Linked DNA regions of Homo sapiens: regions 1 and 2 are each linked to region 3. The links are contacts of gene promoters, found by promoter capture Hi-C in blood cells and fetal thymus (Javierre and others, 2016). All regions are on one chromosome and are shown on one strand. The core of a region is centred on a gene start or on the middle of the fragment in contact, and the rest is flanking DNA. Distances in the headings are between cores, read along the strand shown. Region 1 holds the start of CDC27 (cell division cycle 27). Region 2 holds the start of MRPL10 (mitochondrial ribosomal protein L10). Region 3 holds the start of UBE2Z (ubiquitin conjugating enzyme E2 Z).

Region 1 (4,756 bases), core at 516-3,015, 1.7 Mb before region 3:
GACCTCAGGTGATCCACCCGCCTCAGCCTCCCAAAGTGCTGGGATTTCAGGTGTAAGCCACCACGCCCGGCCTTCCATGCTTTTATAAAGTCTGAAATTATTATTAAATGGTGGTTATAGTCTATCAATGCAACTAGTTTATCACTTTAGAAGACTTCTGGGGCCAGAGAAGGCAAAAAAAAAAAAATCATTAACTATTAAAACAAAATTATAAGAATATGCAACAGAAATTAAATAACTTGAGTAATCTGCTTATCTATTTAAGTTCATGTTAGGCCTTAAAAAATTATATATATATAATTACCTCATCTACAGCCAGAATAAAAAAAAATCTTAAAAGAAACTATACTGGTAAAAAGAATTTGGATGGAAATAGCTCTAGAAAAACTAATACAACTTACAGACAGGTAAATTTCATAAGATATAATCTTACGTTTTATTAATTCAAACACTAATAGCTGCTATATGTAAACAGCTGGAGAAAAAAACCAAACTAGAAGAAATGAGTATTTCATGCTGTTTAGAAAAATGAAATAAATATGAAAGTAGTGATATATTAAAATATTTACTGTTTGATACCTCAAGCCTTTTAAGGGCAATATGAAGGAATTTCTAAAAATCAGTTTGCTTTATAACTTCAAAATAAAGTCCATGACTCAATGACAGCAGTTGATAGAGGTCAATTCTGATCAAGTTAAAGATCATATAGTGGGATGAAGTCTCCCAGACCTGGTCCATTACCAAGGCACAAAAGATACAGTTTCTCCAGATGTCAGGGGGGAAAATGACTTGGCACCGCATCACACACTTAAAATCCAATAGGGTTCCTTTAATGCAACACAGCACTGTGCGTCAAAGCATACCCTGGTGTAAAGGCAGTGAAATGGACAGAAACACCATTATTTGTGTTTCATTTCCTGAATGCCTTATAAACATGCACAACAAAATGCTCCTGATCCCCATCAGAGAGGATGAAAACAACCCAAATGTGCCCTTTCCACCTCCTCCCCTGGTATTGGTGCTTGCGCCTCAGCACTGAGGCTTGGAGTTGTCTTCTCAAACCATCATTGTCCGGTGGGAAATTCACCGAGAAAGGAAACGTGGGATAGGAAGTCTGTTACCAAAATAGAAATTAGTATTAAAAAGACCGATCCTACGCTCCCTCCACCCTCTCATACAAGACAAAATAAAAAAAACCTCCGTAAACTTGCCCTACCGTCACGAAGATCACACAAGCTCCGATCAAATGTGCTTCTCGATCATCTTTTAGGCAAGAGAGCGCTTGGGGTGCATTTTCGGCCCCTCATCTCCCACCCCCAGTCAAGCCAGGCCCCTGGACTGACAGGAAAGGCTGGCCGGACGTTGGCTCGGACGGGAAAGGCGGTTATTTTCGCCGAAGCCGCTCACGCTAAGGGTGAAGTAATGTAGGGCCAGAGGTAACACGGCTTAGGCTGTGGGCAAGGCCTCCGAACTGACTAAAGATAGGCAGGACACGGCAGCAGGGGAGGCGGGAGAAGCAGCCGGGCCTAGGCCGCACCAGGCCGCGGAGTGGCCCTACGCTGCTGCTTCCCGACCGAGGCTGCCAGCCAAGCCCCAGAGAAGAAGGTTATCATTACCTGGACGGGTTCCTGCAGCACCGTCATCCTCGAGGCTCAGGCCCACTTTCTGCAGTGCCTCAGGCCCCCCCTGTAGCGGCTCCGGCCCGGCCAGCCCCTGCTCATTTAAACTCACCAGCGACCGTTACCGGGGGATGGGGGAGGCCGAGCGATTGCCGAGTGCTTCCGAGCGGGACACGGGAATACCCGAAGTGGAGAAAGCCGAGCGGGAACCAGACGGAAAAGCCCGAAGGGAGTCGGAAATACCCGAGGTTGGTCGACGAGAGAGAAAACCGTTGCCGGAAATTGTCGAAGATTACCGGAAGCTACCGAGTCTGACCCAAAGCGTAGGTTTCTCTTCTCAGCCACGCCTTCAGCCACGCACACCACGCCCAATCGGCCGTCCCAGGGTTGGGCTACGCCAAATCTGCAACCAGCAGGCTGGGCGTGGCGTGACAGCGCGGGCGGGTAGCGTTACGTGGCGGGGCTGCAGTGTGGATTAGCCCCTCAGCCCTTTTGGATTAATTGGTGTGCTGTAGATTATGAAGCAAAGGGTGAAACAGCAGAGTTTGGGGCTGTCTTTAATGAATCAACAAGTATTTGTCTATTGAGTTTAGATCATTCGTCCATTCCAGAAGTATCTACTCACGGCTCTGGGGGAAAGCTAAAGAAATTTGGAAAGATTGCCACTCCCCAAAGACATAGGATAGCTTCTGTCTTCAAGGAGATTAAGGTCTATTTAAGGGAAAAGCAGTGTAACAGAGAACGCTATATTATATGGTGCCTATTATAAGTAATATAAAAATTCAGAGAGGGCAATTGTGATAAGATAAGGAAAGTTCTATGGAAGGAAAAAAAAGTTTAAAATGGAGTTTGAAGGATGGGTAAAATTAGAGGAAAAAGAAGTATAGGAAAGTGAAGGGAGGAAAAATGGGATCAGTCTGCTAAGAAGGCATTAATTGGAAATAGTTACTTAGGTGAAGAGATCATGGAAAAGCTCAATAGGCCATTAGAAATTTTTATTTTTGATAGGTGAGGCATTCCGCTGTGGTGGGAAGAGTAGGGGGTCGGAAATTCAGAGGCCTGGTTTTGAATTTTATCTTTAGCACTAACTAGTCATAGGTCCTTGGCAAATTACCTCTCTGAACTTATGTTCGCTTAGTTTGAAAAAAAAGGATTAAGAGAATTCGATGTATTATAAATGTGGCCGTGTCTAGCATGCAATGTAGACTCTCTCATATTTCCTTTCTGCTCCCCTTCTCCCCCCAAAAAGAGTGAACCAGGGGACTGTTTAAATTTTGTTTTTCAGCAGATGAGGAAACAGTTTTTGAAAGTTACTTTTCTAGTCAGGAGCTCTCTAGGCTAGATGTGAGAATCATGATATATTCCATTGCTTGGAAATTTCCCTTTGGGTGATGTTAGAGGGAGATATTTTTTCTTTCATTTTTAAAAACAAGGCTGACAGAGCTACACTGCATCCTTCTCCACCGCCTTGTCTTGTCACTGTATATATACTTATAGCCCCTAAAGGGCAGGTGCTAAGATGATTTTTGGCTGCCCTGTGCCCAGTTGCTTTAGCGGGATTATGCTGGATGACTTGAGTGGTAACAGACTTTTACACTGGCCTGGAAAGTAGCCATTAGCTATTTAAAGTTTAAGTTAAAATGAAATTAAAAATGAAGTTCTTCAGATGCCCTAGCCACATTCCAAGGATTCAGTAGCCCTGTATGTGGCTAGTGACTGCCATATTGGACAGTCACACAGATATAGAAGAACATCACCAGCACTGGCTTGGCTAGGGCTGAAAGATTCAAGATGGCTTCACTCACATGTCTAGGGTGTCAGTGGTAGCTATTGGCTGGGTCCTTCATTTCTTCTCTGCATGACCTCTCTTTTCACACTGGCCTCTTATGAGTCAGTAGTTTAGCTCCAGCTTCTTGACTTGGTGGTTGACAACAAAGTGCGCAAAAATAGAAGCTGTGAGGTCCCTTAGGCCTAGGCCTGTGAGCATCACTTCTTGTTGGTCAGAGTAAGACTCAGAGCCACCCTGGATTCACCAGGAGGAATAGTCTACTTCTTAATGGGAAGAGTGGCAAAGTAACACCACAAAGGGCGTGTGCCATGGGAGGAGTTTTTGGGTCATCTTTGGAAACAATCTACCACGCTAGATATGAGATGAGAGTATCTAAGATTGGGAATGGAAAGAAAGGGATAAGTAAGAGCTATCACTCTTAAAATGTGACCCTTTCAACTGAACACAGTACTCCAGATTTATTCTGAATAATTCAGAATGCAGTTGGACTATTATTATCTGGACACGTCTATTAAAGTGGACTACAGTTGTATTTACATTTTTTTTTTCCGAGACTGAGTCTTGCTCTGTTGCCCAGAGCTGGAGTGTAATGGCGCAATCTCGGCTGACTGCGTCCTCCGCCTCCGGGGTTCAAGCAATTCTCCTGTCTCAACGTCCCGAGTAGCTGGGATTGCAGGTGCGCACCACCACGCCCGGTTAATTTTTGTATTTTTAGTAGAGACGGGGTTTCACCATGTTGGCCAGGCTGGTCTCAAACTCCTGATCTCATGATCCACCCATCTCGGCCTCCCAAAGTGCTGGGATTACAGGTGTGAGCCACTGTGCCCAGCCTGTATTTACATTTTTTAGCAGTCACATGACACTGTTTGCTCATGCTAAACTTGTGTGGTCATTTACGGACTCAGCTCTTTTTCACACAACATGCTGCCAACCCAAGTCTTGTATGTGTGCAGCAGAGTTTTGTAAACCTAAATATAGGACCTTACCACAGAGGATACATAAAGATGATACTTTGTGAAAATATGGATCTAGAGTCAGCATTTAAAGAGCCTCTGATGCTTGGCACTCTGGCTTATAGGCTTAGAATTTGCCTAAAGCCTTTTTTCTTTTTTTAACCTAAAAAAGAGCATTTCCTGGCTGGGTGAGGTGGCTCACGCCTGTAATCCCAACACTTTGGGAGGCCAATGCAGACGGATCACCTGAGGTCAGGCGTTCCAGACCAGCCTGACCAACATGGAGAAAACCTGTCTCTACTAAAAATACCAAATTAGCTGGGCGTGGTGGCACATGCCTGTAATCCCAGCTACTTGGGAGGCTGAGGCAGGAGAATCGCTTGAACCTGGGAGGT
Region 2 (4,336 bases), core at 1,780-4,279, 1.1 Mb before region 3:
GGCTGGGAGGAGATGGCAGGCATGATGGGTGGATGGCTGGTTTCGGGGGGATATATTCAGTCACAGCCATCAGCTTCTGCCGCTGAAAGTGCATCACACGACGGTGGCGGGTAACAGCCTTGGAGCCATAGCGGACAGTCTGGAGGGTAGGCAGCCGGCCTGGGAGGGCATATAGCAACATGGTTAGAGGCAACCTCCTGGAGGCCCTAGTTTATCCCAAATGGAGAAAAAACACACCCTCTAGCAGAGAAAAGCACAGCTCACAGAGCTAGACTCAACACAAGAGTGGGACAAGGAATTGTCTGACAAAAGTCCTGAATTTCCAAAGCTTCTCTTTCAGTAAGTGACCCGAGGTCAATTACTTAATCTCTTGAGGCTACCATTTCTCTAGCTCTTCTCAATGTGCAGAAATGTGAGAAAAAAATGAGAACAAAGGAGAAAATATTTTGAACACATTAAGAAAAGTGGGGGCTGAGTGTGGTGGCTGACACCTGTAATTCCAGCACTTTGGTAGGCCGAAGCGGGCGAGATCACTTGAGGTCAGGAGTTTGAGACCAGCCTGGCCAACACAGTGAAACCCCATCTCTACTAAAAATACAAAAATTAGCCAGGTGTGGTGGTGTATACCTGTAATCCCAGCTACTTGAGAGGCTGAGGCAGGAGAATCGCTTGAACCCGGGAGGTGGAGGTTGCAGTGAGCCGAGATCATGCCACTGCACTCTAGCCTGGGCACAGAGTAAGACTCCGTCTCAGAAAAAAAAAGAAGGAAGGAAGGAAGGAAGGAAAGAGAGAGAGAGAGAGAGAAAGAAAAAGGGGATAAGGTTAAATAAACTTTTTCTTAAAATGGTCAAACAGTAAATATTTTAAGTTTGGGGCCCATGTAATCTGTCTCTAATGCTCAACTCTGCCAAAAGCAGCCACAGACAATATTTAAAGAGACAGCAGAAACTATGTACCAATAGAATTTTATAAAACACAGTGACTGGCCCTGCCATAATACGCCAACCCCTGGTCTAATCTAGTGGCTCTCAAGGTATGCCCCACCTCCACCCCAACCAGCAACATCAGCATCATTTGAGAGCTTGTTAGAAATTTTGCTGGGTGTGGTGGCTCACGCCTGTAATCCCAACACTTTGGGAGGCCAAGGTGGGCAGCTCACTTGAGGTCAGGAATTCAAGACCAACCTGGCCAACATGGTGAAACCCCGTCTCTAACTAAACTACAAAAATTAGCCAGGCGTGGTGGCACACACCTGTAGTCCCAGCTACTCAGGTGGCTGAGCCATGAGAATTGCTTGAACCCAAGAGGCAGAGGTTGCAGTGAGCCGAGATTGTGCCATTGCACTCCGGCACTCCGGCCTGGGTGACAGAGCAAGACTGTCTCAAAAAAAAAAAAAGAAAGAAAGAAAGAAAAATAAACATAAATTCTCAGGCCCTGCCTAGACCTACTGAATCAGCAATTCTGGGGTGGAGCCTAGCAAATAGTGTTTTTTGTTTGTTTTGTTTTGTAGAGACCAGGTTTCACTATGTTACCAAGACGGGTCACAAATAGTGTTCTAACAAGCCCTCCTGGTGATGCTGACGCATGCTAAAGTTTGAAAACCACCACTCTAACCGCTGCTCTGACACCCTGTCCTATGATTTGAAGAGGAGAAAAAAATGTTACACCATTCTCACAGCTCTCAGACAAGTTTCTCTTTCCTCCTCTCTTCCTGTTTACAGATAATGCTACAGAGCACCCCACAGAAAACAAGGGAGGCACTCAAAAGCCCTGAGACAAAGTGACCACTTAATCCTCAACACAAGGGCCAAGACTAGAACTTCCCACTTTCAGTCATTTCCAAGACTGGGATGTGACCTCAGAAAAAGGTCCAGATAGAAGGCGGCTCTAACAGTCAGAGAGTATGGATATTTGCTGGGGTAAGAGGTCTTATTGCCAGCAGCCACAAAACCTAACTGTTAAGACTGCAGGCAGGCTTTGGAATCAAATTAAACTGGATTTTTTTTTTTTTTGAGATGGAGTCTCGCTCTGTTGCCCAGGCTGGAGTGCAGCAATGCGATCTCGGCCCACTGCAACCTCTGCCTCCTGGGTGTAAGCGATTCTCACGCCTCAGCCTCCTGAGTAGCGGGGACTACAGGCACGCGCCACCACACCCGGCTCATTTTTGTATTTTTAGTAGAGTTGGGGTTTCGCCATGTTGGCCAAGCTGGTCTCAAATTCTTGACCTCAGGTGTTCCCTCCGCCTCAGCCTCCCAAAGTGCTGGGATTACAAGCGTGAGCCACCGCGCCCAGCCGAAACTGGATTTTAATCTCTCTTCCGCCAATTACTAGCTGTGACCTTGGCCACCCAACTGGTCTGAACTTCAGTTGCTGCGTCTGTAAAGAGGAGATGCGAATGTCTTTCTCACAGGGTGCTTTAGATTTAAATGATTTAAAAGATTTAAATGAGCTAACACATATAAAAATAGTTATCACAGTGCCTGGCCTATATTAAGTGCTCAAATCCATTCACTAAACAAATATCTACCGCACGCTTACTAACATCCAGCACCATGCCACCTGCTGGCTATGCTGAATGAACATGGTTCTGCCCTTGCGGAGTTTAATAGAGGAAACAAGCAACTAAACAAATGCAAAATTACAGATTGCGACGGGGCTAAGGAGTCAAGGGAAGACCTGAGGTGACATTTAGACTGACACATTAAGATGGAGACATAATGCAAAGGTCTGGGCGAGGAGTGGTCCAGGCAAAAGAAACGCTGGAGACAGACAACATCTGGACGTTGTTGCTGTGATTACCAGTCGAGTCACAAGGAACTGGACGGGGTAAGGAGGCCAGCGATCTAGCTGGGGTCAGAGATTATGGGAAGAATCAGTAGTAGAGGAGGGCAGATGAGGACTAGAGAGCGGCCGCAAGACACGCCGTGAGGACCTGGGCCACTCCTTACCCGCCTGGGGCAGGAGACCCCCTCGCAGCATCCCCGCCACGGCCGCAGCCATCTCCACCGGAAGAATGGACGGAAGCCGAGTGGAGACGGAAAGAGCTAAGGATTGTGGGGTAGCGAACCCCGGGGCCGGAAGCAGTGGGCGTACCCGCCGGCTGTAGCCGTAAGACGCATGCGCTAGGCCGGGCCAACGGAGCCCGCCTTTACCTCCCCACTCGGCGTCCAGTCTCTTAGCAACGACTCCGGCTTCCTAGGAACTGCTCCTTTCTCAACCATTCCTGCCCACAACACCCCAGCTTGCTGCCAGCAAAGCCCCTCCACACCCCTCAAACTCCAGACCCTTCACATCAATTTACTGTTTTCTTCGACCTCACCCCAGCAATTTTCTCTGAATCAACCCCCTTTCCTCCTCTCCTAAGTCTCTGAGTTTCTCTCTCCTCCTGCCATCCTGAGTTCTGCCATCCTTAGGGGCCGCCAAGACCTCTCTTTTCGTTCCTCTCCCGCCTCAGACCAGCAGCCTTTTATTTTAGATCATGTCTGGAGGTGAGTAGGGAGGTGGGACGGTGGGTAGAGCAGTTGGAAAACAGCGGGGTAAGGCCTCCAAGAGTGAGGAAGTGTCACAGTTGGACTCATCTTTTCACAGGGAAGTCAGCCCAGGGTCCAGAGGAAGGGGGCGTCTGCATCACTGAAGCCCTTATCACTAAGCGGAACTTGACTTTCCCTGAAGATGGGGAACTGTCAGAGAAGATGTGAGTGCATGGGGGAGAAAAGGGGTGCTAGAAGGCTGAAACACTCAGGATGACCAGGTCCCTGACGTGTACTGATTTGTCAACTGATCTTTGTTTCTCTCCTTACTCCACACATTCAATCAGTGGTAATGCCCAGCTGATTTTCCCTTCTTCAAAATAATTCCATTTCTTTTTCACCATCCTCACTCAACTGTCTTAGATAAGGCCGTGTTCACCTCTCTCCTACACACCCACCACTTTGGGAGGCTGAGGCAGGAGGATCACTTGAGCCCAGGAGTTTGAGACCAGCCTGGGCAATAGAGACAGAATCCTATCTCTAAAAAATAAAAATAAACTAGCTGAGCATGGTGGTGCACACCTGTAGTCCTAGGTGGCTGAGACAGGAGGATCACTTGAACCCAGGTACCTGTGGCTGCAGTAAGCTATGATCATGCCATTGCATGCCAGCCTGGGCAACAGGGTGAGACCCTATTTCTAAAACAAACAAAAAGTAAAGTATTTTTAATTACTTTTTTAGAGATGGGGTCTTGCTCTGTTGGCCAGACTGGTCTTGAACTCCTCAAACAATCCTCCCACTTCAGCCTCCTGAGTAGCCAAAGTGATCCTTTTAAATAACAAATCTAATCAGGCATTCACTGATAG
Region 3 (4,476 bases), core at 1,306-3,805:
ACTGCTTGAGCCCAGAAGTTCGAGACCAACCTGGGCAACATGGTGAAACCTCGCTTCTACAGAAAAATACAAAAATTAGCCGGGCATCGTGGCACGTGTCTGTAATCCCAGCTACTTGGAGGGCTGAGGCAGAGGTTGCAGTGAGTTGTGATCCCATCACTGCACTCCAGTCTGGGTGACAGAGCAAGACCCTGTCTCAAAACAAATCAATCTTTAGCTCTCCATAAATCTTGGTCATTATCCTTCAGGTCTGCATTCCATTACTGTAAATTCATAAAACTCTAAAAGGCAGGAAGGGTGGGGTGGGTGGATGACTTCTGTAATCCCAGCACTTTGGGAGACCGAGAAGGGCGGATGACTTGATCCAACTCCAAAAGGAGTTGGAGACCTTCCTGGCCAACATGGTGAAACCTCGCCTCTACTAAAAAAATACAAAAAATTAGCCAGGCGTAGAGGCGCCTCTACTAAAAAAATACAAAAAATTAGCCAGGCATAGAGGCATGCTTGTAATCTCAGCTACTGGGGAGGCTGAGGCAGGAGAATTGTTTGAACCCAGGAGGCGGAGATTGCAGTGAGCCACGATTGCGCCATTGCACTCCAGCCTGCGTGACAAGAGCAAGATTCCCTCTTTAAAAACAAAAAACAAAAAACAAAAAAACTCTAAAGCCAGACTCTTTTTTTTGAGACGGAGTCTCACTCTTTTACCCAGGATGGAGTGCAGTGACTCAGTCTCGGCTCACTGCAACTTCTCCTTCCCGGGTTCAAGTGATTCTTCTGTCTCAGCCTCCTGAGTAGTTGGGACTACAGGCGCCTGCCAACACACCCGGCTAATTTTTGTATTTTTAGTAGAGACGGGGTTTCACCATATTGGTCAAGCTGGTCTCGAACTCCTTACCTCAGGTGATCCACCCACCTCGGCCTCCCAAATTGTTGGGATTACAGACGTGAGCCACCGTGCCCGGCCCAGACTTCTTTTTTAAAAAACCAAACTTGGTGGCAAAACATCCAAAGTGAGGCTATTCATTTGACTTGGTACGAATGTTCATACACTTTGATGCAGAAATGTCAATAGGTTTGGCTACCCGGCGCTGCCCCACTCCTTGCTTGGTGTGTCATTCCAAAGTCTGAAATACATCTGGCCCCACTGGTTTCCAGTTAATATTGATCCTATATTTTTGCTAGGGAAAAAAGTTTTTGTTTTTGTTTTGAGACGGAGTCTTGCTCTGTCGCCCAGGCTGGAGTGCAGTGGCACGATCTCCGCCCACTGCAAGCTCCGCCTCCCGGGTTCACGCCATTCTCCTGCCTCAGCCTTCCGAGTAGCTGGGACTACAGGCGCCCGCCACCACGCCCGGCTAATTTTTTGTATTTTTAGTAGAGACGGGGTTTCACAGTGTTAGCCAGGATGGTCTTGATCTCCTGACCTAGTGATCCGCCCGCCTCAGCCTCCCAAAGTGCTGGGATTACAGGCATGAGCCACCGCGCCCGGCAAGGAAAAACAGTTTTTTAGGAAGGCCCCTGTCATTCTTAGTCCATAGGAATTTTTTTTTTTTTTTTTGAGACGGAGTCTGGCTCTGTCGCCCAGGCTGGAGTGCAGTGGCGTGATCTCAACTCACTGCAAACTCCGCCTCCCGGGTTCAAGTGATCCACCTGCCTAAGCCTCCTGAGTAGCTGGGACTACAGGTGCACGCCACCACGCCCGGCTAATTTTTGTATTTTTAATAGAGGCGGGGTTTCACCATGTTAGGCTGGTCTCGAACTCCTAACCTCGTGATTCGCCCACCTCGGCCTCCCAAAGTGCTGGGATTACAGGCGTGAGCCACCGAGCCTGGCAGATTATTTTTCACTTTAAACATTTTAGGAAAGACCCAAAGAATCCTCAGGGTTTACACTCACAGTACCTCGATTCCTGTATATTCCAAGATTTGTGGGAAGAAAAAGTACTAAGCTTGGAGTCAGGAGGCCTGATGTTTCTTCCTTTCACCAAGCTTCTCTAGTTCTGTTTCATTATCCCCATGGCAACAACTAGCAACAGTGACTGGCATTTAGTAGGCCCTTCATAAATATATGTTGAATAAACTCTAAAAGAGGTAGCTTTTCATTCCAAGTTGAGTTCTCTCTTGGTCCTGTTGCAGGCAAGGGCAATGGTACCCTGCCCTAGGTGCACAAGTGTGCAGGAGGGATCAATCGCAGAGCCTTTCCGAGAGAAGGGGCCCAAAGCGAGTCAACTTCTCTACTGAGCTTCCCATGAGGATGCTGGATCCCCAATCCTAACCATGCAGACGTCTGAGGGTCGCCGCCATTAACGGGAATGATATGGCCCTTCCTCCCCCACTCCCTCCTCTCTTCTCCCCTTTCAACACTTGAATTGGGCTCTCCGCTACTTCCGCACAGCGCAGGACCCACACGAGCCCAGAACCATCACGGCCTGCTAGTTCCCACCCCTCCCGTCCTGGAGGACCGTAGGTGGACGCTCTTGCAGAGCGCCTCTCGCTGGTTGGGGCGGGGGTGGGCGGAGCCAGCACCGTCTGGGCTGTGGAAGCGGAGGGGGTGGGGACACTCTGGCCCGGTTCTCGGTGGTGCGGGAGCGGGCGGGAGCAGCGGCCGCTCTGGTCGGCGGACGTGCTGCCGAGTAGTCCCGGAAGCGAAGCAGCGATGGCGGAGAGTCCGACTGAGGAGGCGGCAACGGCGGGCGCCGGGGCGGCGGGCCCCGGGGCGAGCAGCGTTGCTGGTGTTGTTGGCGTTAGCGGCAGCGGCGGCGGGTTCGGGCCGCCTTTCCTGCCGGATGTGTGGGCGGCGGCGGCGGCAGCGGGCGGGGCCGGGGGCCCGGGGAGCGGCCTGGCTCCGCTGCCCGGGCTCCCGCCCTCAGCCGCTGCCCACGGGGCCGCGCTGCTTAGCCACTGGGACCCCACGCTCAGCTCCGACTGGGACGGCGAGCGCACCGCGCCGCAGTGTCTACTCCGGATCAAGCGGTGAGCCGGGGTTTTTCCTCCCCCAGCCCCGAGCTCCGGGGCTCGACCTTCCCCGCCCCCCACCCTCTCCCACTACAACTCACCCCCCACCCACTGCGCTGCCCTCGCGGCGGCCCACCTCCACGGCCCAAATCTTGCCAGCTCCGGGCGTCGGGATCCAACTCCCTTCTCCCCCCACCCTCAGACCCGCAAGCACCAACCCCCGCCTCGTGTGCCCAGATCCGACCCCGCCCCTCGACAACCTCCCGTGAGCCCTCCGTCTCCATTCCGGCCACCCTCCCCCACACCTCCCACCTCCGGGTGGAAACCCGACCCTTTAGCGCTTCAGTAACGCCCCCTCCCGCCTTCGGCGCCGCCCCTATTTCCCCTTCCCCACCCCAACCTTGCTAGATGCTGCCCGCAGGCCCCACCCATCGGTCCCCTCTCTTCTCCTCTGGAGCCCCGTTCCTAACACAGACGAACTCAGCTTCCTTTGCCATGCCTCTGACTCGAGCCAACCTTTCTTTTTATCCTCCGTTTTTCTCAGATTCCCTCCACACAGTCTTTTCCCAGGTCTAGATCGCTTCCCTCGCCCCAATCTTTCCTTGAACCCCTTTTCCAGTGTCCCAAAGCTGTCCACTCTTACGCCTCTTCCAGAAACACAGGCTACCTCCCCCCAATTCCCCAGTGCCACTCTGGATTGTAATATCCCACTCAGGAGCTTCTTTCTTGTAATTTCCCTCCCCCCACCCCCCACCCTCCCCGGGTCGTCTGTTTTACTTCTATGAAGCAAATATACTCATCAAATATAGGAACAAAGGCCTAAGTCCTTTCTGTGCTTATTTCTTGGGTGACTGATCTTAGATCCTATCATTTAGTAGATGATGTTTTCCAGAAGCACATAGAATAGTACCTATCGCATAAGAAAAGGGCAGTGCTCTTTAGCTATTAATCCTGAAACCTGTTTGACTTCTCCCCATGCCCCCATCACAAGCATCTTCGTTTAGTTCTTATTCCCCATGTTCCACGTCCTTTCAGATGTCTCTGTGTCTACTTTTCAAGGTTGTAATAAAAATTAATATAATGTGTGTAAAGTACCTGGCACAGTGCCTGACACAGGAGGTCAACTGTGGAGGGATTGCCACCTCTAACTGAAACTCAGCACTCAACTCTTTTCCTCCTCCAGCCATTTCAGTCATCCAATTCTGACATACCTTTGAGTTTGGCCAATGCTTTCCTCTGCTTTGTCGCCTATTTGCCCTTTTTATGTCCCTACCCACCCTAGCAAGTCCCTAGGCTTTTCGCCACCTAGAATGTTCTTTAGCCCCTTGCTCTCAACTGATCCATTCCAGTTGGTGAGATATGAGTCAGAAATCTTATCTCCTATGGAAGTCCACATGTCATCTTCCAGATGGGAGATTCTTAGCAATTTCTGAGGATCCCTCCCCAGCCTGAAGAGATCTCTACCCTGAGACACCCCTGGGCAAGAAGGCCACCATGATAGTCTTACTCTCTGCTGGCTGGCTTG

What was found. Contacts are between HindIII fragments. The CHiCAGO score rates a contact against its expected background, and 5 or more counts as called.
Region 1: a contact is called between the fragment with the promoter of CDC27 here and the fragment with the promoter of UBE2Z in region 3, in 1 of 17 cell types (neutrophils). The highest score is 10.0, in neutrophils.
Region 2: the fragment with the promoter of MRPL10 here is called in contact with the fragment with the promoter of UBE2Z in region 3 in 1 of 17 cell types (non-activated CD4 T cells); the score reaches 8.7 in non-activated CD4 T cells.

What each region holds. Positions count from the first base shown.
Region 1 is chr17:47,187,530-47,192,285 of GRCh38, forward strand. It overlaps CDC27 (cell division cycle 27), which reads right to left and starts at 1,766. Exons shown (of 19, transcript NM_001256.6): 1 at 1,617-1,766. The coding sequence starts at 1,643. It also overlaps a transcript of MYL4 not described here. RefSeq lists a silencer at 1,291-1,340 and enhancers at 1,374-1,970, 1,501-1,690. The HindIII fragment of the contact is 9,297 bases long and covers 1-4,756 here.
Region 2 is chr17:47,828,512-47,832,847 of GRCh38, forward strand. It overlaps MRPL10 (mitochondrial ribosomal protein L10), which reads right to left and starts at 3,030. Exons shown (of 5, transcript NM_145255.4): 1 at 2,949-3,030; 2 at 1-159. The coding sequence starts at 3,000. LRRC46 (leucine rich repeat containing 46) reads left to right here and starts at 3,159. Exons shown (of 8, transcript NM_033413.4): 1 at 3,159-3,488; 2 at 3,589-3,694. The coding sequence starts at 3,479. RefSeq lists enhancers at 1,612-2,443, 2,444-3,273 and silencers at 2,736-2,795, 3,036-3,195. The HindIII fragment of the contact is 9,003 bases long and covers 327-4,336 here.
Region 3 is chr17:48,905,852-48,910,327 of GRCh38, forward strand. It overlaps UBE2Z (ubiquitin conjugating enzyme E2 Z), which reads left to right and starts at 2,556. Exons shown (of 7, transcript NM_023079.5): 1 at 2,556-2,969. The coding sequence starts at 2,653. It overlaps LOC105371814 (a long non-coding RNA gene), which reads right to left and starts at 3,132. Exons shown (of 4, transcript NR_135674.1): 1 at 3,088-3,132. RefSeq lists silencers at 2,695-2,944, 3,215-3,344 and enhancers at 4,218-4,267, 4,288-4,337. The HindIII fragment of the contact is 3,469 bases long and covers 1,984-4,476 here.